Regions from separate parts of the Homo sapiens genome. Here all the other regions are linked to region 1. Evidence: promoter capture Hi-C in 16 types of primary human blood cells and fetal thymus (Javierre and others, 2016). All regions are on one chromosome and are shown on one strand. Each heading gives the region's core, a stretch centred on a gene start or on the middle of the fragment in contact. The rest is flanking DNA. Distances are from core to core; before and after follow the strand shown. Region 1 holds the start of MSANTD4 (Myb/SANT DNA binding domain containing 4 with coiled-coils). Region 2 has its middle 7.6 kb from the start of ALKBH8. Region 3 overlaps CWF19L2 (CWF19 like cell cycle control factor 2). Region 4 has its middle 2.9 kb from the start of LINC02552. Region 5 has its middle 55 kb from the start of LINC02552. Region 6 overlaps LOC105369466 (a long non-coding RNA gene). Region 7 has its middle 170 kb from the start of CASP4.

Region 1 (3,222 bases), core at 247-2,746:
ATTTACCAAATCTTTTTTGTCTGTTACATTCTAGGCACTGTGTTATTCACAACAGTAAACAAGAAAAGCCCCACCCACATAAAATATGTGGGAAGTGCTGTCAGAGGAAAGGCCGTGATGAGAGCTCGCTGAAGTAGGCTTGCAGATTTAGTAAACAAAAATTTTTATTTTTTTAAATTTAGCAAATAAACATATGGATACCAAATATTCCATTGGACAGATTAAAAATTATTTGCTTTTTATCTGAACTTCAAATTTAACTGAGCGTCCTGTTTTTATCTGGCAAACCTACAGGGAAGGGAATACTTGGAAGTGGAGGGAGGGTGAATGGAGATAATTTTGGAAGCCTTCCTTTAGAAAGGAATTTCTAAAAATGAATGCTAGGCATAGCGGAGAAGCAGGGAGGAAACACAGCAATGCAAACTGACTTCCCAGTAGCCACTGTAGAGTTCAGGAACTGAAAGAAGCAAAGGGAATGGGGTAAGGAAGAAGAAATGTGGGTATAATGTCGAGAGATGAAGGTTGAGGGAAAAGTAGGTGCCTTATTTTTCAGGTTCGATAAGGAGTTTGTACTGTATCACCAGTGGTGAGATTCCACTAAAAAACTTTAAGCAGCTCATTTTGGCTACAACGTGAAGAATGAACTACAGTCCGGCAGACAGGATGTTGGGAGACCAGCTAGGAGGCTACTGATGGAATTCAGGTGAGTCCACAGAGGCCTGGACAGAGGCAGCGGGAAGAAAGGTGCACTAATCACAAACACCTGAACGTGAGACGGCAGAAAATAAGCAACTGCAAACTTGAATATAGAGGAGGACTGGGAGAGAAGAAAGCAGAAGCACATATTTGGGGAAACAGTGAAGAATGGTAAAAAAAAAAAAAAAAAAAAAAAAAAATTCAAATGTCTTCTGGGAAGTATATAGTATGATAAGGACTAAGAAGTGACTCCTAGATTTAGCCATAAGGAAGTCACCAGCGACCTTTGGCACGGGCAGCCTTAGAGGAATGGCTGAGGCCAATTAGGTCGCAGCTGGTCGAGGAGAAGGTGATGCTGGCCTAAGAACCCGACTGGAGCAGCACAAGTTTCCTACTTCTTCTTTGCCCTTTTAACAGGTGAGGGTCAAGGACAAGAGACGAGTTTGGAGATGCAGCGGCCAGTGCCCCAATCAGTTGGAACAGCGCAGCAAGCGGATCTCTAGGGGCCAATCCCTTCCTAGAGTCCACTTGACTGACAGAGCTGCGCGCCACAGACGGGGCACAGACAGGGAGGTGAATCACGAGGGGGCGGAATTCCAGGGCACTAACCCGGAACCGGTTTGGGACTTGATTCCCATTGTGAGGCCAGGCCTAGGGCGGGCTCTCAGCCAGAATGGCTACACCATTCTAACCAATGGATGAGACTCATCAAATGAGCGGCAGCCATATGAGCCATTGGGGTGGCGGGAGATGGGCGGGCCCAGTTAGTGGGCGGGGGATCAATGAAGCATCTTTTTTCCTACCCCCCTTGGGGCGACCGTGGGGAGGTGCCGCCGGGGTCGCAGGTGAGCGGTTCTATGCTGGAGGAGGCGGCCAGGGAAGCGGCGGCTCCGTGACCAGTGGGTGCCCTCGCAGTGGGTAGGGTCCCGGAGGGGTCAGCGGCAATTGGCGCAACGCTTGCTGCCGGGTTTGGTCCAAGGGCTGCGACGTAGCGGGACTGCACGCTCGGGAGAAGTGCCACGCGCGTCTGTCGCCTGACCGGGGAGGCTGGGGAGGGCCCAGGCCACGGAAACAAGACTGCAGAAGTTTCTGGGCACTCAGTCGGGACTCTCATTTAATACCCAGAGAGAGGAGATCTTCCAGGTTGCCCCGACTCCCACCGGGACTCCTACCAGCAGCAACCTCATCATTGTGGCCGAGGCAGGTGCGCGCCCCTGCTCCCCTGGGTGGCCTTCCGGGAGCCCAGTCTAACTCGATTCTTCCCAGGGGCTCTTTTTGGACGGTCCCAAAGGAGGCAGCGGGAGGGAGGTGAAAGATACTTTGATAACCGTCGACCCATAAGTATACTTGTTATGCACCTACCACGAGTTTTAGAGAAGAACATACTTTTTGGCAGGGAAGTGAATCCCCTATAAGAATATAGGGGAGGGGAAAGCCACACTTTAAAGAGAATTTGGGTAGGGTTTGATATTGTAGATTTGTGATGCTTTTCTTCTTGAACTGCTTAACTAATTTACCCTCAAATTTTTTTGATCCGGAACTTGCCGTCTGGTTTTTCTCAGACTTCTTAATTCTGACTTATCATGAAGTATCTAGGAACTTCATTCTCAAGTTTTAGTGCTTGTAAAAAGTTGCCTGGTTATATTATGCCATTGGCAGTACATCATCTTCACAAGGATTACGTAAGTGAACTACATCTCATTCCTGTTTCCAACTAGTGAAGAACGATTGTGAAATGGGATTTTAGAAAATGGCTGTTCTCTGTGATTGGGCATAGAAGGTTTGTAAGTTTTAGAGACTGCAGCTGTTGAATCCTTTCTGCTAAGAGAGCGATGACAGGCAATAGAAAAGGGATAGTGTTTGACATCTAAAATGACATATTTTCACATTTTATGAGGTGTTATATCCCCAGCACCAAAAATAGTGCCTTTCACACAGTAGGAGCTCAGTAAGTATTTTTTGAGGAAATTATTGGGGAATGAATGGATGGTAGAAAACCCAAGCTTCTGTTACTTGGATACCGGCATATAAAGGAGAGGACAGGAAGACAAACATTTCTGGAAATGGCTTTTATCCAGGTAAGCATATCTACAGAACTTCAACAACTCAAGATGCATCAATGCTGGCACTTTCTTGCACTTAATCAGAAAATATCAAGGTTTTAGAAGAAGATTTTCACACAATTAAGCCAAGACTGGGTATCTAAGGTGCATCCCAATATCAATTTCAGTCAGGTTAAAAATGTATTAAAGCCCATTTGATTAAATGAAATAGTTCATCAGTTCAGAATAGATCAGTCAGGACAACGGGATACCACTTTGTAAGTTAGAGATATGGAGTTAGGAATTGTTGGTCAAAAATAGGCCCTGCAAATAGCAACAGCTGCTGTCAAACTTTAAAAATATATTGACTCAGTGGTACTTCAAAAGGACTGCTATTTCTACCATGTACCAATACATTTACAACAATGCGATTTCTAAATTGATCTCAGATTCTAAGAGCAAAATCTTACGGTGGATATCTGCA
Region 2 (3,222 bases), core at 437-2,936, 1.6 Mb before region 1:
AGAATAAAACTTGTACGGTTATTGAAGGATTCAGGAATAGTGTATGTTAAGCACTTTGTGCTTGTAATAAAAGGTAGATGTAAAGAGGTACATGTTTTAACGTATAAAAGTTGGCCCTAGGCCGTGCACGGTGGCTCACACCTGTAATCCCAGCACTTTGGGAGGCCAAAGCGGGAGGATCACTTGAGGCCAGGAGTTCGGGACCAGCCTGGCCAACACGGTGAAACCCCGTCTCTACTAAAAATACAAAAATTAGCCAGGCGTGGTGGCAGGCACCTGTAATCACAACTACTCAGGAGGCCGAGGCAGGAGAATTGCTTGAACCTGGGAAGCTGAGGTTGCAGTGAACCAAGATTGCGCCACTGCACTCCAGCCTGGGTGACAGAGCAAGACTCTTGTCTCAAAAAATAAAATAAAAAATAAAATAAAATAAAAGCTAGCTCTTTTACTCATGCGATAACAGACATGGATGTAAATCACTCTTTAAAATATTTTATATTTAAATCCCAGCACTTTGGGGGGCCAAAGCAGGCGGATCATGAAGTCAGAAGATCAAGACCATCCTGGCCAATATGGTGAAACCCATCTCTACTAAAAATTACAAAAAAATTAGTTGGGCATGGTGGCGCATGCCTGTAGTCCCAGCTACTTGGGAGGCTGAGGCAGGAGAATCACTTGAACCCAGGAGGCAGAGGTTGCAGTGAGCCGAGACTGCATCACTGCACTCCAGCCTGGCAACAAAGCAAGACTCCATCTCAAAAAAATACAAAAATAAAAATAAAAAAATTTATATTTAAACAGCTCATACATTTTGTCTTTAAGTCTCAGTTGTTACATTTGTAAAATGGGATATAAGAGATGCCAAAAAGAGTTGTTTTTATTTTTTATTAAAAATTTTTTAAAAACTTTTGTCAAATTATAAAACATAATCTATTATTCTTTAATAATTTAATAATCTGAAATTTGAATCATCTGCTTCTTGGTCCTTGCACCTTATAAAATTAAAATACTTCCCTTGAAATGAGAATTCCAAATATACTAGAAATCTGGCAGCTTCTCACTCTGGGGATGATTTTTAAAGAGGTCTATGTTGACAAATAACATACAATCTTTTTCCTCAGTGGTTGAACACTTGCAAAAGTAGCAAAATTGCTTGTTAAACATGCAGGTTACTGGGCCCTGGCCCCAGAGATTTTGGAGCACACACTGTAACCAACTGGTGTTCAGAGAATTAAAATTTATATGTGCTTTAAGTTGACTCGTTATGTCTAGTGGGGTTGGAGACCACTTAACCAAGCACTTCAGTGATTCTGATGCAAGTAGTCTAAGAACCAGCCTTTGAGGAACATGCCCTAGTGCAGTGGCCTCTAAAGTGAAGTGTGTATGGCTTGTGGGATTTAGAAGAATATTCTAGAAATTCCATTTATATGTTTATCTAAAACAAATTAATCTCTATTCACATTTAATATCCTGGAAGCTTCATTAGGTGTGAATGTCTGATGTTACATGTCACAGACTTTATGAGAGGTGCTCTAGAAGAGGAGAGGAGTGAGAGCTCACAGGCAGGACAGCTGCCTCTGGCATCCTCCCTCTTTTGATTTAAGCGAGACATTATTTTTTTGTGGTGCCTGATAAATGGATTTTTGGATTATGTAATCCAAAAACTATTTTTTGCAAAATGGACAAGTGGGTTAGAAAACTCTGAATTCCCTACAGTGAAGATGAATATAGACAATAATTCAAGCACAAATAACCAACAGAAAATAGCAAAATTAATGCTCCTAGTATGAGCTCTCAGTCCCAACCTAACAGCTGAGACTATCTAATCAGATCTGACAAGAAGTCTACTCCCCAAACTAGAAGCGATCACAAATATAGTTAATAATGAAGCTTGCCCTCTCTGGGCAAATATCTTTGTGTCTTTGAGAAATTAATGATAGAATGAAGCCATCAATGTGGCAAGACATTTTTAAATGAAATGTTTATACATTTTTAAAATATACTTTTTTCTTCTACATTTAAGGGAAACATTTTTAAAAGATTTTGTTTTATTTTATCATAACCTTTTAAAATCCACAAATCCCACACCTCTAGCCACCCCAAAGATTTTCCTGCACCCTGAGTTGCCTGCTAGTTCTTTATTCTCATCTATTTAAAAAATCTGTGTAGAAAAGAAAATTATTCTGCAAAGTAAGCAGGCCTTTAGCCTCAAGAATAAATAGACCATTTGGGGGAGGTTAATGCTTCGTAGCTAAAATTGTATGCTTTGCAAATGACCAAAAAAAAAAAATAATAATAATAAATGAATTCTCCAAGCTGAGTTTTATGTTTTGTATTATAAATTAAAGGCTGACCCTTTTCCTTCTCCTCTGTTTTTTTTCTTGGTTACCTTTTGCCTCTAATTACTGTACAGGGAATACTTTCACCATATGACTTATAAAACTGCAAACTTTTCATTGAATTTTTATCACCATAGCGTGAATAATGTATTCAGTCCTGAAATGTCACAGTGAACATCAAATGGTTTTACATAATGCATTCTTGCTGAAGTTTCAAGAAGCCAGCAACCAGGGAAGCAGCAGAGAAGACACAACTTTGGAAAGAAAACTTGATACAAATTTGTCATTTTTCCAGGAGGAATAAAATAAGTAGCAGAAGAGTAAATGAGAGGAAAGACTGAGAAATAAAACTTTTTTTTTTTAAACCATAAATAGAAAAACAAGCAAAACTAGTACAGTTGCCACAGGGGACAACTGGAAGAAAAACTAGAAAGTAGCCAGAAACAGATGGTGGGGAAAGGGGCTGTAGGGAGAAGGGCGAGGTTAGAAACCTCATAACCATAGGAATTGAGTTTGAAACTGCAGTCAAACAGTTTCATAGTTTGGAACTACAGTAAAAATGTAACAATTTTCAAGGACTATTGGGGCCATTTTCAATTTTTTTCTGATTGAAGACTCTTGAACTAGAATACAATAGCTGTAAGAATTCTAGTTTTGGATGCTTTATTAGCTGATGAGAGTGCTCATTACTCTGTCGTCCAGGCTGGAGTTCAGTGGTGCAATCATAGCTCACTGTCACCTTGAATTCTTGGGCTCAAGTGATCCTCCCATGTTAGCCTCTTGAGTAGCTAGGACTATAGGTGCATGCCACCATGTCTGGCTAATTGAAGAGTGGCCATTCTTTTAGCATCCTTTTCTCATAGGTTTGGGGAGAGCTCGTAAT
Region 3 (3,222 bases), core at 371-2,870, 1.4 Mb before region 1:
TGAAAGATTTTATTTATTTAGACATATTCTTGGTCTTATTTCATCAGAGATTGAAAGTTTTTTAGAATGTGGTTTATTTTTTTTCTCTCAGAATACATCCTTTTAAATTAAGATGAAATTAAATTATTTTCTTGCCTGTTCAAAATGATTGTAGGAACACTCTGTGAAGAAAAAGAAGAAAAAAGACAAGCATTCAAAAAAAGCAAAGAAAGAAAAGAAAAAAAAGAGCAAGAAACAGAAATATGAAAAAAACAATGAGTCATCTGATAGCTCATCAGTAAGTATGTACTAAAATTAATCAAAGCAGCTATTTGAGAACATTTTATTTGAATGTGTAACTTATGGGAAGTTAAAATACAAGAAAACGTAAAAAATATATTACTAGTTATGATATGAAAATATCTGGGATACATCTACTTAGAGATGTCCAGAAAATATTGGAAATGTTGATCTTGAATTTCAGAGAAAGGCTAAGAGGATAGGGATATGATTTGGGAATTATTGCTAAGCACAGCACTGGATCTTGCCCAAGGCCTGCTGTAACAATTACCTGGCTACAGCTGGTGTTCACTCAAGGCCCTGGGGCTCTGCAATCAGCAGGTGATGAAGCCAGCCAGGCCTGCGTCTTTCCCTTCAGGGTGGCAAGTTCCCCCAGGCCTGAGGGTGGGTCCAGAGGTGCCATCAGGGACCCAGGTACTGGCGTCAAAAACCTTAGACTTGTACCTGGTGTTCTATTGAACTGTGGCTGAGCTGGCATTCAACCTATGAATGGCAGTCCTTCCCACTCTTCCCTTTTCACAGGCAGAGGGGCCTCACCCTGTAGCCACCACCATAGACCCACAGGTAGTACTGGCAGGCTACCACTGATGTTCCCTTAAGGCCCAAGAACTCTTCAGTCAGCTGCCCGGCCTGGGACTCACCCTTCAGGGCAGTGGGCACCCCCTGGGCCAGGGCAGATCCAGAAATGCTATCCAAGAGCCAAGGCGTGGGGCTGGAGACCCCAAGATCCCTCTTGGTGTTCTACCACCCTGTGGCTGAGCTGGTACCTAAGGCGCAAGACAGAGCCCCCTTTACTTTTCTCAAGCAGAAGGAGGCTCTCCCCATAGCCACCACAGCTGGGAATGTGCTGAGTCTCACCTGAATCCAGCAAGTCTCAGATACACAGTGAAGGCCACAGTGTAGTACCCGATTATTGGTGCTGGTTATTCAGGGCCTAAGGGCTCTTTAGTGGTTACCAGCTATGGCTGAGCTGGTATTCAAGATGCAAGATGGAGTCCTGTATTTACTCTTCTCTCTCCTCTCCTCAAGCAGAAGGACAGGGTCTCTTTTGGAGCTGCACATTGTGCAGCCTTGGGTTGGGGGAGAGGTGGTGTAAGCACTCCCTTAGCTGCACCAGTTGCCCCCCAACCACCTGTCCATTGGCTCTGAGGCAAGTTTAGCACTAGGAGTCACCAAGGAATTCCACATCCTTGCTAGTACTTGGTATTGTCAGTCTTAGTAATTTTTAGCTATTCTACTGTGTAATGTCTCGTGTGATATTTCTCTGAAGAACAAGGATGTAGAGCATCATTTTAAGTCCCCATAGGGCATTCCATGTCTTTGTGAAATCTGATTTATTAAATATTTTCTTTTTTGTTTTTCATCATTTTTTCTTAGTGCTTCTGGTATCCTAATTTTTGCGCACCTCAAGATTGTGATTTCTCCTATGTTTATGTTATTATTAAATTTTTTTGTTTTTTGTTTGTTTTTAGAGATGGAGCCTCACTATGTTGCACAGACTGGAGTGCAGTGGCACCATCATGGCTCATTGCAGCCTCAAACTCCTGGGCTCAAGCAATCCTGCTGCCTTAGCAGCCCAATTAGCTATGACTACAGATGTAGTACAGAAAAGTTGTTTTTGTAGACATGGAGTCTTACTATATTGTCGAGGCTGGTCTCGAACTCCTGGGCTCTAGTGATCTCCTGCCTCAGCCTTCCAAAGTGCTGGGATTACGGGTGTGAGCCACCATGCTTGGCCTCCTATTTTTTTTCCCTAGAAGTTTTATAGCTTTGGCTTTTTTGCTTATTTATAATCCATTAATAATTTTTATTTATGTTGTGTAGTGTCAGTTTATTTTTTTCCCACGTGGATTTCCAGTTTTTCTAGCATCATTTGTTGAAAAGGCTGAATTTTCCCTATTGGAAGGAATTTAGGGAGATAGATATGTTAAAATATTCTTTCAATCCATTATGCACTTGGTACATCTCTCTATCCATTTATGTCTTTGATTTTTCTCACAATGTTCTGAAATTTTTAGTGTAGAGATCTTACATGTCGTTTGTTATTTTTTTTCCATTTTGTTTTCTGGAAGTGCTATCGTGAGTGGAATTTTAAATTAAATGTGTTTACAGCTAGTATGTAATTATAGAAGTGACTTGAAACATTAGGATCAGAAAAAAAAGAAAAAAGTGAAAAAAAACCTGCTTTTGATATATTCACCTTGCCTCTTATCACCATGTTAAAATTACTAATACTAGTGTTAGTAGCTTTTTTAGTAGATTTCTTAGGATTTCTAGGTAAATGGTATGTCATGTGTGAAAAAGACTTTTACTTTTTTCTTTTCAGTCTCTGTGCCTGTTTTATTTGTTAATTGTTGTTGCCTTATTTCAGTAGCTAGGACTTAAAAATAGTGTTGAATGGAAGTGGTGAGAGTGGACATGATTGCCTTTTTCCTTATCTTAGGTGCAAAGCATTCAGGTTTTTACATTTAAGCATGATGTCTGCTGTGGGACTTTCATGTATGCCTTTTCAGATTAAGGAAATGACATTTTATTTCTAGTTTTCTGAGAGTTTGTATCTTGAATGAGTATTGAATTTGGTAAGTGCTTTTTTTGCATCTATAAGTGTTAAAATTTGCCAGTGAAACGGTTTGGTCCTGGAGTTTCTTTGTGGAATGGGTTTAACGACAGAGTTAATTCCTTTAATAGTTGTGTTAAATACTTTCTGTTTATTCTTGAGTTAGTTTTAGTAATTTCGGTTTTTCTGGGAATTTATTCCATAGAAATTGTCAAATTTATTGTCATAAAGTTATTTGTAATATTTCCTTTGTTCTTTTAATGTTTACGGAATCCATAGTGATACCCCTCTTTCATCCCTGATTTTGGTAATTTCTATTTTCTGTTTGTTTCCTCTGTCAGTCTGTCTTGAGGCTTATCAGTTTTATTAATCTTTCTTTATTGCCT
Region 4 (3,222 bases), core at 480-2,979, 1.4 Mb after region 1:
GAGTGAAAGCTTTTATTCATTGTGCATTTTTCCCCCTCCTTACACAGTTTCAAAAGAGTTAAAATTTTAGGAGCTATAGAAAATGTATGGGCACTTAAACAAGACAGTGCATAAGCTAAATCCAAGTTACACCAATTTCTGACATGCAGTATATGTTAATTTATTGAGCCGTAGGCTTATATCTATGTAAAGGAAAGAATAACATCTACCAAACAAGTTTAATGTAAGAACGTAATGAATAACATATGCAAAGAATATCATTGATACCTAATAAGTATTCAATACAAGCTGTTATTGTCACAGATTTACATGTATTAAATCATCTGAGTTTTTTCTACATAAAATTGTTGAGATTTTACTTGATGAATGGGTAAAGAAAGAAAAATGTTAAATTATATATTTATTTTTTAACCAAATATTAGTTGAGCATTATACCCAGTTGTGCCATATCCTAGATAAAATGAATAAACCATGTCATCTAACAGCTCAAAGCTAAGTAGGGAAGACAGAAACACAAACATAATTACAACAGACTCTGAAAAGTGTACAAATTAGTATATGCATGAAGTATACTTGTGACTGATATAAGGGGTTTCAGTTAAGTATTCACAGAAAGAATACTTGGCCAACTCTTAAAGAATGAGTAGAAGTTCTTTACATATAACTTAAATATAAAACTACCTCAACCTTAAGTACTACAGAATACATAAACGAGTGCTCTAACAGTGAACAGACTCAAAAAACTTGATATGACCTTGTTTATAAGACTAGATCACTTTATTGATGAACTTAATAGCTCCTTACATATATCCCTTTTTGCTGAACCTGCATTAGGAATATTGAAATGCATTCTCTCTCTTTGTTCAGCCTCCTTGAACTTATCCACTCTATATATGTATAGAATCAAGAAAACAGCTGGGAATTTTTCCCTGGAGTTGCTTTCTTTTCAGCATTTATTATTTTCCTTCCTTTAAATAATATCCCATCTGCTTTTGGGAAACTACTAGTTTCGCATTATTGGTTATGCAATTTTGATGGTACTGCCTAGGGTTTATTCGCACAGCTCACACTCTTGGCCACAGTGATTGGGGTCAAAGAAAGGTTCTAACACGTTGATTATTTATTGGATGAGTTCACTAATCAATGGATGTATGCAGGCTTCAGCCAATAGGCACATTATATTTTCCTGGCCATCAGGATTGCTACAGATATTGACCAGTAATTTAGTCCAGCCCCAGAGGTGTGATCCTTAGAACAATTGTTAGGCCTGTGAGACAACAGCCTCCCTGAAGTGGGTGGTAGAAGAATGTAAAGGTTGCTGCTTGCTGCTGCTCTTGTACATCCGTTGAGAGGCACTATTCAAAGGGCTGAGCTAGCCCAGAGGGCAAGGGGCAGTGTAAAGAGAAATTCTAATCATTAGAATTTTAGTTTCTAATTAAACTGAACTACTTGTTTACATTATAGCCAATAATACCTCAGTTTTATTAATCCAATTTAAGTTGAATTGTCAATCACTTAGAGCAGAAAGATCCCTGACTGATAGATACCATCACCTTTCTGGCCAACTTGTTGCAATTCTTCATTTGCATAAGTTGGGAAACTTTTCACTTCTTAACAGTTGGGATCTTATCAGTCTACAGAGAGGCAGTCTTTTTTTTATCCATTTTCCACTTGTTTCACAAAATCAGGATGATTCAGGAACCGCCATCTATGTAACTGAGAGCACTCAAGTGTAATACTTTATGATACCTTTTGTCATCTTGTTTCTTTCCTTTATGTTATCGCTTTACTTTTCTGGTTCAGAAAGTCAATTACCATTTTCATGGGTCTTCCAATGGCCTTCTTTTCCTAAAGCACCTTATTTTTATATAGATATTTTAGCTTTTAAGAAATTGATGTATACAGTTAACACGCCGAGCACATTCTTATATTCCATGCTGTTAGGTAGCTACTAAACCGATTTACAGCCTGTCAGAGCAACTATCTCTGCAAACCACTTTACCAAAGTTTAAAATTATTTGAAAATAGTAAATTAAAAATAATTACCTGGAAAGAACTATTCTAACTTACCAATGATCGGATTCACAGGATTGCCACAAATTGGGTATGAATAATATCTAAAAATATAAAATGTAATAAAATATACATAATATTATGTGTAAAACCATATTATGTATACGATAACTTCCAAATTTGTTTTTTTTTCTGAATCACAAAGTGCTTCAACGTTATCAACAAAGATCAATTACCATGTTTCCGTGAATTTGTACATGGGCTTCTTGTTTCTTAGAGATTTATGGTTGACTGCTTGATTGATACGTTTTATCTTATTTAAATTGACTATGGTGCCATCAGTTTTTTTCTCACTTAAGTTCTACACATATATATGCATAAAATGTTGGTTATTAGTTATTCCCCTTGCTTTTCCTGCGTCATTTATTTTCTTCAATAAGCGGCTTCAGGGAAAAAAATAAAACACTGGCTAAGGATTAAAAACAGTTACTGTTCTCATCCAAGTTACAAATTAGTGTTTATAATTAAACTCCAAACTTAACAATTTCTTTGTTTTGAATCCATCCTGTTGAGTGGTTACAGAATTGTCTATTTCTTCTAACCTAATGCTAATAATGTGCTGGCTTCTACATCTTTATAATTGTTCATTAGCTTCAAGCAGTATGCTTTGACTTCTATGTCCTTGAAACTATGAAATTATGTTTCTATAATTCAGTTTTTCTTAATGTTTCTACTTTACATAGAATGTATTATGAAACTGAGATCTGAGGCATTTTTAGAAATTCTGAACGGGGGATATCAGTTTAGTCAGAACAGTGTCAAATGTGGAACCCAAACAACATAATTGGTACTTTGAGGTTGAGGTTGATGTGACATTCTCTTGAACATATTTTAATACTAATGCATATTTAAATTAAGATTTTAACCTCCTGACGTTCAAACCAACAAGCCAATCACTATCCAACTAGAGAGACATGTCTTACAAATAAGATGACACGACAAAAATCACTTGTCTTGAATCTATGTTTATTGCACAAGAGATTTGAAAAAAGACTAGTTGTTTATTAATATTTTGACAGTGAATTTTTATATTAAAATAGCTTTTCCAATGGATTATACACCCAGAAACCATCCCAAATATATTTGTCTATATCCTGAAAGGCTGCTACCTAAAAATGATGGTATGGCATGTGTTCAAACATGACATCC
Region 5 (3,222 bases), core at 207-2,706, 1.4 Mb after region 1:
GTTCCACCTATTTATTTCTGCCTCCTTCTCTCCCTGTACCCCCACACACCAGGCAATCACTTTTTTATTTTATTTTTTTACTGTCTCTATACAGTTTTCTCTTTCCCAGAATATCACATAGTTACAATCATATAGTATGTAGAGCTTTCACATTGCCTTCTTTCACTTGGTAATAGACACTTACGTTTTATCTATGTCCTTCTATGGCTTGATAACTCCTTTCTCTTTAGTGCTAAATAATAGTCCATTGCCTGTATATATAACAGGCTATTTATTCATTCACTTATTGAAAGACAGCTTGGTTGCTTCCATTTTTTTGGCAATTATAAATACAGCTGCTATAAATGTTCATATGCAGGTCACTGTGTGGGCATAAATTTTAAGTCATTTGGGTAAATATCACAGAGTGAATTGCTGGATCATGTGGTAAAACTCTGTTTAGCTTTGTAAGAAACTGCCAAACTGTCTTCCAAAGCAGCTGTACTATTTTGCAATCACCAGCAATGAGTAGAATTTCCTTTCGCGCTTCCTTCTTGTCAGTATTTGGTGTTGTCAGTGTTCTGAATTTAAGTCATTTTAATAGGTGTGTAGAGGTGTCTCGTTGTTTGAATTTTCAGTTTCCTAATGGCATATAATGTGGAACATCTATTTATCTTTGTTTTGCTTGCCATCTGCTTATCTTCTTTGATGAGATGTCTCTTCAGATCTTTTGCCCATTTATTTATTGGGTTGTTTGCTTACTATTGTTGAATTTTAAGACTTCTTTGTACATTTTGGATAATAGTCCTTTTTCAGGTATGTGTTTTGCAAATATTTTCTCTCATCCTGTGGCTTCTTTTTTTAAATCTCTCAATTCATTGACTTGTCACTCAGGAAAAGCACTAGCCTTTAAGTGAAACATCAAAAGTGAAAAATATATTGAACGTGTCAGGCACTGTGCAAAAAACATAATGGTGAATGAGACAATCCTTTTATTCAAGAAGCTTAGTAAACAAAGAAAGAGATAGAAAAAAAAAGATGATTAATCCATAATGTGTGTTACAACAAGGATGATAAAGAGGGTATATTCAAGGTGCACATAACAGCCCATGGAGAATCAGGCAAGTCTTCCTGGAGGAGGTGCCTTCAGATCTGAAATTTAAAATATGTTTAATAATGGGTAAGGAGTAGACTTTGCAGAAAATGCATGTGTTATGAGGCAAGACATTAAAAAGAGAAACAGCATGGTTTGGAAAGGGTACCACTAGCCTTTTGGTATTTGAGTCAGGGAATGATGAGCAACGAGATTGGAGGGCTGAGATGGAAATAGATAGTGGGGACCCTCATATTCCCAATTAGAGAGATTGATCTGCATCCAAGAGGTGTCTTGGAGTATTTAGAGAAAATTAAACACTAAGTAAAATTGTGAATTCTCCTATCAAGAAAGAAAGGCAGAGAGAATAAAGCATAGATCATCCCTTCCTCTGTTTATGTTGCTATGCAAGAAAGCCTAAATCTGGGTAATTTATAACGAAAAGAGGTTTATTTGGCTCATGATTCTGCTGACTATACAGGAACCACGGCACCAGCACCTGCTTCTGATGAGGGTCTCCGACTGCTTCTGTTCATGGCACAAGGTGAAGGACAGCCAGTGTGTAAAGAGCACATGGCAAGAGAGAGGAAAAGTGGGGATCCACCCCCACGACCCAAACACCTTTCACCAGGACCCATCTCCAACTTTGGGGAACAAATTTTAATGTGAGATTTGGTGGAGACAAATGTTCAAACCATACCAGATAACTCACAACATCTGCCACTATGCTTCTGTTAAGGAAAAAGGTAAGATTAAAAAAAATAGTTTGTGTCTTAAGGAATATGTGTAAGTTCACCAGCAAAGCATGGATGCCTAATCTGGTAAACAATAATAGAAGGAAACGAAAAGTAAGCTTTCATATGCAACTGAAAACTTGAGGAAAAGGCAACAAATTTAGTTCAGTAAAAGGATGGGTTTTCCTCTCTAGCTTTGTGAAAAAAGCCTACTGGTTAATTAGTACAAACGTATTCATTTTAATATCCAGCTCTGTCCATGATTTGAATATACAATGATCATAGTAGCAATTCTTCTTTCCTTATCATTTTATATTATTTTACAAAGCTCAAAGTTAACGTCAGAGGATATTTCTTCAGGACTCCACAATAGTTAAAATGGAAGAGATAAATTTGCATTTAAAAATTTCAGACGTTTCTGCCAAAGTTCACCTTCACTGAGTAGCTCATTTACCTCAAGACTTTATTTAAAGGCAATTGTGCCTGAGAGCATCAGAAATTGTAATGTGGTCTCATTAAAAACCTCAGCACAGCTAAACTCCCATGGAGGATGGAGGAAACTGGAAGAGGCATTCCTTTTATTCTGACCACAGGTAAACAAAAAATTTCACAAGTTTTCATGAACCCATCAGAAAACTGATGTTACATGACAATCAAATAGACTAAAATCTGATGAGATAGGAGTTCCCTGGATGAGACAGGACATGAACCCAGGATTACTTGGCAGAACACTAGAGAAAGACATGCCAGTTGGGCAACAAACCAGTAAGGATTCAGCTCCATGTTCCCCAGATTCCTAAAGGGCAGGAAGAGGCTCATTAAGAGCATGATGTCACATCATCATGTGGCTCTCTGGGAGCCACAGACACAGGGGTACTTTACTCACATTCACAAGCTCTTCTTCATGAACCTCCACTGGGTGCTCGCCAAAACGACTGGGACCAGGCAAAAAGGCTCTGGTGGTACATGCCTAGTAAGGCAGTTTCTTACAAAGTTAAACATATACCTGAACTACAATTGAGCAATCCAACTTCTCTAAGTATTTACCCAAGAGAAAGAAACACTTTTATTCACACACTATCTTATATGCAAATCTTTATAGTGGTGTTAGTCATAACTAGCCAAAACCTCTAAATATCCTAAATAGTGAATGGATAAACAAACTGATGCATCCGTACAATGGCATACTAGTCAGCAACTAAAAGAACTAAACTTCTGTTGTACTCTGCAGCATGGATGAATCTCACATTCATTATACTAAGTACAAGAAGGCAGAATGGAAAGGTTTCATACTAAAATAATTTCATTTATATTACATACTGGAAAAGACAAAAGTATAGGAATGGAAAAATGAATCAGTGCCTTCCATATACTGGGGTGGGGTTACAATTTGGTCGCAAGGGAGCATGAATGAAT
Region 6 (3,222 bases), core at 416-2,915, 1.3 Mb after region 1:
TGATTGTTAGCAAAGGCATTCAGTCCACTGAATTATGAAAGAAAATTACTTTCAATAAATAGTGCTGGAACATCTGGATAGCCATAAGTGAAAAAGGAAAGGAAGGAAACCCTTGACCCTATCACATACCATACACAAAATTAATTTGAGATGGATCATAGATTTAAATATAAAAGCCAAAACAATAAAGATTCTAAAAGAAAACACAGAAGAATATTTTTGCTACTTTGGGTTAACAAATGTTTATTAGATAAGATACAGAAGCCAATAACTGAAAAAAATTGATAAAATTGACTTTGTCAAAATGAAAAACTTCTCATCTAAAGATATTAATAACAGACAAGGCAAAGACTTGGAGAGAATATTGTTCAGTCATATCTCAAAAAAACTTTAATCTAGAATATAAACTATTCCTACAATTTGGAAAAGAAATAAGAAAAAGACAAAGACTTGAACAAATACTGCACAAAGAAAGATATAAAAAATAGTCACTAATAAATAAAGAAGTTCTCAACATTATTAGTTTTCAGGGAAATTTAAATTAAAAGTACATGGTGCCACTGCACATACACTAGAAAAATTAAAATCAGGATTTCCATAATTACTGGTAATAGTATAAAATAATACAACCACTATGGGAAATGGTAGCTTCTTATAAATATTTATCTGATTATGACCCAATAATTACATGTATAGATACTTACACAGGGAAATACAAAATTGTTCACAAAAAACTTATATAAGACCAGGTGTAGGGGCTTACACCTGTAATTCCAGCAATTTGGGGCTGAGGTGGGAGGATCACTTGAGTATAGGATTTAAGACCAGCTTGGGCAACATAGACGGACTCTGTCTCTCAAAAAAAAAAAAAAAAAAAAATTAGCTGGGGATGGTAATGCATGCATGTGGTCCCAGTTACTCTACTTGGGAAGTTGAGGTGGGAGGATTGCTTGAGACTAGGAGGCTAAGGCTGCAGTGAGCCATGATTGTGCCACTGCACTCCAGCCTGGGCTACAGAGTAAAATCCTGTCTTAAAAAGGAAAAAAAAAAACTTATATACAATTCATGGCAGCTTAATTCACATTAACCAGCAAATATAAATGCCTATAAACATAGATAAAATAAACAAAAAATTAGTATATTCATTCTATGAAATACTATTCAGGAATAAAAAGAACAATGTACAATAAAACAGGAAAAAACTCCTGAAACACCAAAAGGTCCTAGTTTTGTAGAAGACATTAAAACAAAAATGCAAGCAAGTATATAGAAAAGGGTGGTTCTCTTCCCAAAGTGGAAGGCAAGTTCATCAATTATGTGAAGAATTGCTTCCAGATGACTGGGAATAGGAGGTTGTTCAAGATCTCTGGCAGTGGAGGAAGTCTCCTTAAGAAAATAGTTTAAACAATTTGTTAATTTTTTTCTGTCTTATTTCATTTCTACAACAGTAGATATCTGGCTGTCCTTTTTATAATGCGGAGTGAGAACTTTCCCTATAGTGTTTGATCAATATTGTCCAGGTTCCATTGCCAAGAATGTGTTGTCCAAAATGCCTGTTTAGCTTTTAAAAATGGAACTCCACCCTTTGCTTGGTTTTATGTCTGTATGGAATGTTATGATAAAATATAGTAGTAACAGTGGTCAGACATGGAAATGGTGGGGAGACAAAAATATACATGTGAAATAAAACTCAGTATTTTAATGAAGTAAAAAATGATGTACTGATATGTACAATTACATCAGTGAACCTCACAGTCAATATGTTGAATGAAAGAAGTTAGTCATAAAAGAACACATGTTATTTGATCTCATATATATAATATTCTAATATAGGCAAAACTACTCTATGATGGGAAATTAGAAGATTAATTACTTTTAGGAGGAAATGAGTCACAAAATATATAAGGCATCTTTCTGAGTGATAAAATTATTCTGTATTTTGGCAGGGATGTGGGCTACAGAGGTGCAATTTACCTCTAAACTCTAAAATTCTAACTAAAAAATTTACTGAATTATAAATTTAAGATGTGCATTTCACTGTATGTCAATTTTGCCTCATAAAACTAGTTGTATATAAATATTGATTTTTTTTAGCAAGTTTGTTTTTCACAGTGGTATGGGTTAGAAAAGCTAAACCCTGTGGGTAAATGGACAAATGCATTGAGAATAATGGAAGTCAATTTCCTCACTGTTGAGGAGGGAGAAATATTGAAATAGCAATGACTACAATGTACACACTCCTGTTGAATCAAAATTAGAACTATCACTATATATCATTACAAAATTATGGATATATAGGAAGGTATAAAATAACTCTAGATGTTAGTTCTCTCATATCAGAAGGCTCAGAAGCACACCCATAGTAATGAGCACACTTCGGAATCAGATATTGTTTCATACACACCATTCAACATGAAATAGAACCAAAGCTCCTTGAAGAAGTGCCTGATTCCAGGGCTGGGGAAGGAAAAGTTTTAGATGAGCCTGGATCATCTTATGCAAAAAAGTAAGGTAGTAAGATAGTGCACAAAGAATCCAGGGTCATGGCAAAAAGACACTGAAACCGTCTTGAAAGGACTGCCACCGAACAAATCTGGGATAATTTAGGCAATATAATAAGTAATGAGGTAATAAATTATAAACTGTTGAGTAAAATAAAAATCGAGTCCATACTGATATAAAAATTAATTAATTTATAGAGGGGAAGGGAAAGCTCTTCCTTATAATAGGATGTCAACTAATAAATATAGAAAAAACAGTGGAATTTAAAATATGTCAATTGATGCTGAAACTTGTACCAGGAAATTTGATGAGAATCAGAAATTTCTATTACATCAAAACATCTTCCCACATTTTTGTTAGTGTGGTAATATCATTATAACTAAAATGACCAAAGCTAGCATGGCCGATATTGGGATGAACTGACACCATGCTCCTGATATGAGTTTTCCTCATAATCTAATTACGATAAGCAACTCTAAACTAAGGAATATTCTTCCAAAAAGAAAATAAAAGACATTCTTCTAAAAGTTCAGATCAAGGAACAAAAACAAAGTTCAAGAATTTCTCCAGATGTAAAAGCACTAAAGACAATGAAATCCTCATTGTGATCATGGGTTGGAGCCCAGTAACAAATTCCTGTTACTCCTCCTTTTGAACCTTTACTCTATATTTTTATTTTCTATTGATACTTTTTGTTTACATCTATATTTTAGATGACTT
Region 7 (3,222 bases), core at 475-2,974, 1.2 Mb after region 1:
ATTTGTGATTGAAACTACAAATCCAATATTATTATGAATGTGCTGTAAGTTTTTCTTTTATTGTGGAGTTAGAACTTCAAGAATTTACCCGTTATGAATGAATCTGAATAAGCATTTATGAAATGACTGACCTGGGTTAAATATGTACACTGTGGACATGAAAACGTGTGAAAATAATGAGCCCGTAGGAGACATGAGGTCTTGACCTGAGATTAATCAAGCTCTCACCTGCTGAGTTAGCCATCTGTATACGTAATCTTATTCTTCTTTTCTAACAAGCTTACATGAAACATATACTGAAAAGAATGATAAATTTTCAGGCTGATGCTAGATTTTGTCAAAAGACTTAGACCAAGTTTATATTTCTTAGCTCTATTGTTCTGCTATCTCAAACCCTTTATCTCCTCTCCTGTCTGAAAAACTGGCATTTTTGAAATCTCTTCACTGAGAAGACGGCAAGTAAAAATGGCAGAGGGGCTTGAAGTATGGCTATTGTTTACATGTAATATAAAAATAATCCAGTGTTTTAGAGCACATTCCCCAAATAAACATTTTTTCTTTTGGTAACTCTACTGTGCTCTTTTTCTCTGTGCATATATATTATATATAACATACATAAGATAATATATATGTATTATATATCATATATGTTATATATAATGTTATATATATTTATATAATACATAGTTCAATATTTCTCCTATTTCCTCAAGCCATATGTGTAAACATTGCATATAGAGTATTTAAACAAACAGTAATGATTATAATAATGGATTGAGTTTTTACTGTATGCAAAAGTGTCAGCTAGGCATTTTCTTGTGTGAATTATTTCTAATTATTCAAACATCTCCACCAGATTTATATATCAACAGAGAGGAAACATAATTTTTTCAGTGTTACAGAACTCTTAAATATTGTGTTAGAACTGAGTACACATTGCCCACATCTGAGGTCCCAGAAAACTATTTGAGGACTGATACATAAAGAAAAAAAATCAAGAGTCTATCCACCTTTTCCATTGTGAACTGTACTTAAGGATAACCAATTAATTAAGTTGTGAAAATTCTCCTCCAGATTCTAAACGAAGAATAGTAGAGTCAGAATGTCAGCATTTTGCAACTTCAAGAAAAATAATGACCTAATAACAGCTAAAAACACAAAGGAGAAAAAGCTAGACATTATGTGCCTCCTGGTGTTAGTACACAGCACCACATTTCAGAATCTGGACAAGGCTCTTAACAGTAACATGGCACAGAGAAACATGTTAAATAATACCACAGGGATGAAATCAACCAAATCCATACTGTGCATAACCACCTGAATAGTCAATAAATAAACTTCTAGAGAGAGAGAGAGAGAGGGGTGTGTGTGTGGGGGAGGGAGAGAGAGAGAGAGAGAGAGACTATGTAAAGGAGACTCTTGCAATTTATCATCCAAATGCAATGTATAGATTTTATCAAGATCTTGATTCTTTTAAAAATTATCAAATAGAGATACTTAAACACTGCCAAAATATTTGGTGTTATTAAACAATTAACTTTACACATGTTTTAGGCATAATAAACAGCAATATTGTGGTTATGTTTAAAAAGTCTTACATTTTAGATATCCCTAATAAATATCTATTGATTAAAGTACATATATTTTACATTTGTATCGATTATCCTTAAGGAAGAGGTGGAAGAAGGTGGGGTGTACAGATGTAAGACTGAAATTGGAAGATGCGACATTGGAATTTTCTCTTATCAGTCTTTCCACATTTGTAAATATTGATCCATAATTTTAAAAATAAGTATAATTTTTTAAAAAATTTAAAATGCAAAGGGGAAATTGTGAGTCTTTTTGACTTCCTATAGTTAATATCAAACACCCCAACATATTAATTTTTTTTCAAATTTTTTACTCCCTATTAGTGACATATCAACAGTAAATCATGTTCGCACCATGAAAGATGATTTCTCTAGGTTTCAGAAGACTCAGAAAGTGTGCCAGTTGTGTTTGTTGATAATCAGTATCTTGCCTACTCTTCTAGACCTGTTGTTTGATTGTGGTAGTATAAAGCCTTAAAATATTATTTACCATATACCCTTTCTAATAGCTTTCTATTTTAATTCTTCAGTGGAAGGCACTCAGGTAAAATTGGATAGACTGGGGAGAAGGAGAAGCCATTTAAAGGAAACCTATTTTTACCCACAGAACATTTCTGACACCAAATGTTTATCAAGTTTTCCCGCACCAACTGACTCACCAACTGTACAGATACCAACTTGATGTCCTACAGTTTAATTCTGCAACTACTTGGAGTTAGTGCAGATCCAAGAGATTAAGGGCTCAGTCCCACAAGTCTGTTTACCTCTTCAAATGCCAATCACAAGATCCAGGTTGTCACCTATACTTCTGACCAACCAGTTATAAATCAGAACTTCTCACCCTCCTCATGTCAAATAATTTGCTAAAACAGCTCACAAAACTCAAGCAAATATTTACTTAAATTTACCACTGTATTGTAAAGGATATTAGAAAGAATACAGATGAACAGCCAGATGAAGAGGTATGTACATAGAATGGGGACTGAGGGTTCCTGAGCACAGGAGCTTCTGTGCCCAAGGAGTTGTGATGTGACACTCTCCAAGCACATCAATATATTCAATGCCCAGAAGTTCTCTGAACCTGTAGTTGAGGGATTGTTATGGAGGCTTCATCACATAGGCATGATTGATTACTAACTCAATTCCCAGCGTCTCTGAGGCTGAAAGTTTCAAGTTTCTAATCATGGCTTGGTCTTCCTGGCAACCAGCCCCCAACTTGAAGCTGTCCAGGACCCTACCAAGTGTTGCCTCATTAGAACAAAAGATATTTTTATCACCCGGGAAATTCCAAGAAGTTAAGGAGCTCTATGTCACAAACCAGGGTCAAAGGTCAAATTGAACAAAGGATGCTCTTAGCACCCTATCACTCAGGGAACTACAGGGGTTTTAGGAGCTCTATGTCAAGAGACAGGTGTAGAGACCAAATATATATTTTCTCTTATGCCACAGCATTATTTGCTATCAGCAGATGAAAGCATATATAAGTGTGTCTGTGGCAACTGGCAGAGCACAGAAGTAGAGTTTTGCTTACAGCTTTCAGGCTTCCTCCTTAGAAACACTCACTTAGGTATGGAAGCTTTGGTGGCAGCTTCTCTGAAATTCCTCCATGAACAGGAATGACACTAAGCAGGGA

Evidence for each region. The method cuts DNA at HindIII sites, captures the fragments that hold promoters and counts their contacts. A CHiCAGO score of 5 or more calls a contact.
Region 2: a contact is called between a fragment that was not itself captured here and the fragment with the promoter of MSANTD4 in region 1, in 1 of 17 cell types (naive CD8 T cells). The highest score is 6.9, in naive CD8 T cells.
Region 3: a contact is called between a fragment that was not itself captured here and the fragment with the promoter of MSANTD4 in region 1, in 1 of 17 cell types (naive B cells). The highest score is 6.6, in naive B cells.
Region 4: a contact is called between a fragment that was not itself captured here and the fragment with the promoter of MSANTD4 in region 1, in 3 of 17 cell types (M2 macrophages, activated CD4 T cells and naive CD8 T cells). The highest score is 8.4, in M2 macrophages.
Region 5: a fragment that was not itself captured here is called in contact with the fragment with the promoter of MSANTD4 in region 1 in 6 of 17 cell types (activated CD4 T cells, M1 macrophages, M0 macrophages and 3 more); the score reaches 8.8 in activated CD4 T cells.
Region 6: a fragment that was not itself captured here is called in contact with the fragment with the promoter of MSANTD4 in region 1 in 1 of 17 cell types (neutrophils); the score reaches 5.9 in neutrophils.
Region 7: a contact is called between a fragment that was not itself captured here and the fragment with the promoter of MSANTD4 in region 1, in 2 of 17 cell types (monocytes and total B cells). The highest score is 7.5, in monocytes.

What each region holds. Positions count from the first base shown.
Region 1 is chr11:106,020,514-106,023,735 of GRCh38, reverse strand. MSANTD4 (Myb/SANT DNA binding domain containing 4 with coiled-coils) reads left to right here and starts at 1,496. Exons shown (of 3, transcript NM_032424.3): 1 at 1,496-2,774. RefSeq lists enhancers at 955-1,024, 1,855-1,974 and a silencer at 1,415-1,524. The HindIII fragment of the contact is 3,155 bases long and covers 1-2,701 here.
Region 2 is chr11:107,571,720-107,574,941 of GRCh38, reverse strand. No RefSeq gene overlaps it. Among named protein-coding and RNA genes, the nearest start is that of ALKBH8, 7.6 kb to the right of the region's middle. The HindIII fragment of the contact is 413 bases long and covers 1,480-1,892 here.
Region 3 is chr11:107,451,505-107,454,726 of GRCh38, reverse strand. It overlaps CWF19L2 (CWF19 like cell cycle control factor 2), which reads left to right. Exons shown (of 18, transcript NM_152434.3): 3 at 155-277. Among named protein-coding and RNA genes, the nearest start is that of CWF19L2, 4.7 kb to the left of the region's middle. The HindIII fragment of the contact is 4,540 bases long and covers 1-3,222 here.
Region 4 is chr11:104,610,569-104,613,790 of GRCh38, reverse strand. No RefSeq gene overlaps it. Among named protein-coding and RNA genes, the nearest start is that of LINC02552, 2.9 kb to the right of the region's middle. The HindIII fragment of the contact is 3,436 bases long and covers 12-3,222 here.
Region 5 is chr11:104,663,089-104,666,310 of GRCh38, reverse strand. No RefSeq gene overlaps it. Among named protein-coding and RNA genes, the nearest start is that of LINC02552, 55 kb to the right of the region's middle. The HindIII fragment of the contact is 942 bases long and covers 986-1,927 here.
Region 6 is chr11:104,680,549-104,683,770 of GRCh38, reverse strand. The region is part of intron 1 of LOC105369466 (a long non-coding RNA gene); the gene reads right to left. Among named protein-coding and RNA genes, the nearest start is that of LINC02552, 73 kb to the right of the region's middle. The HindIII fragment of the contact is 4,581 bases long and covers 1-3,222 here.
Region 7 is chr11:104,792,684-104,795,905 of GRCh38, reverse strand. No RefSeq gene overlaps it. Among named protein-coding and RNA genes, the nearest start is that of CASP4, 170 kb to the left of the region's middle. The HindIII fragment of the contact is 2,886 bases long and covers 282-3,167 here.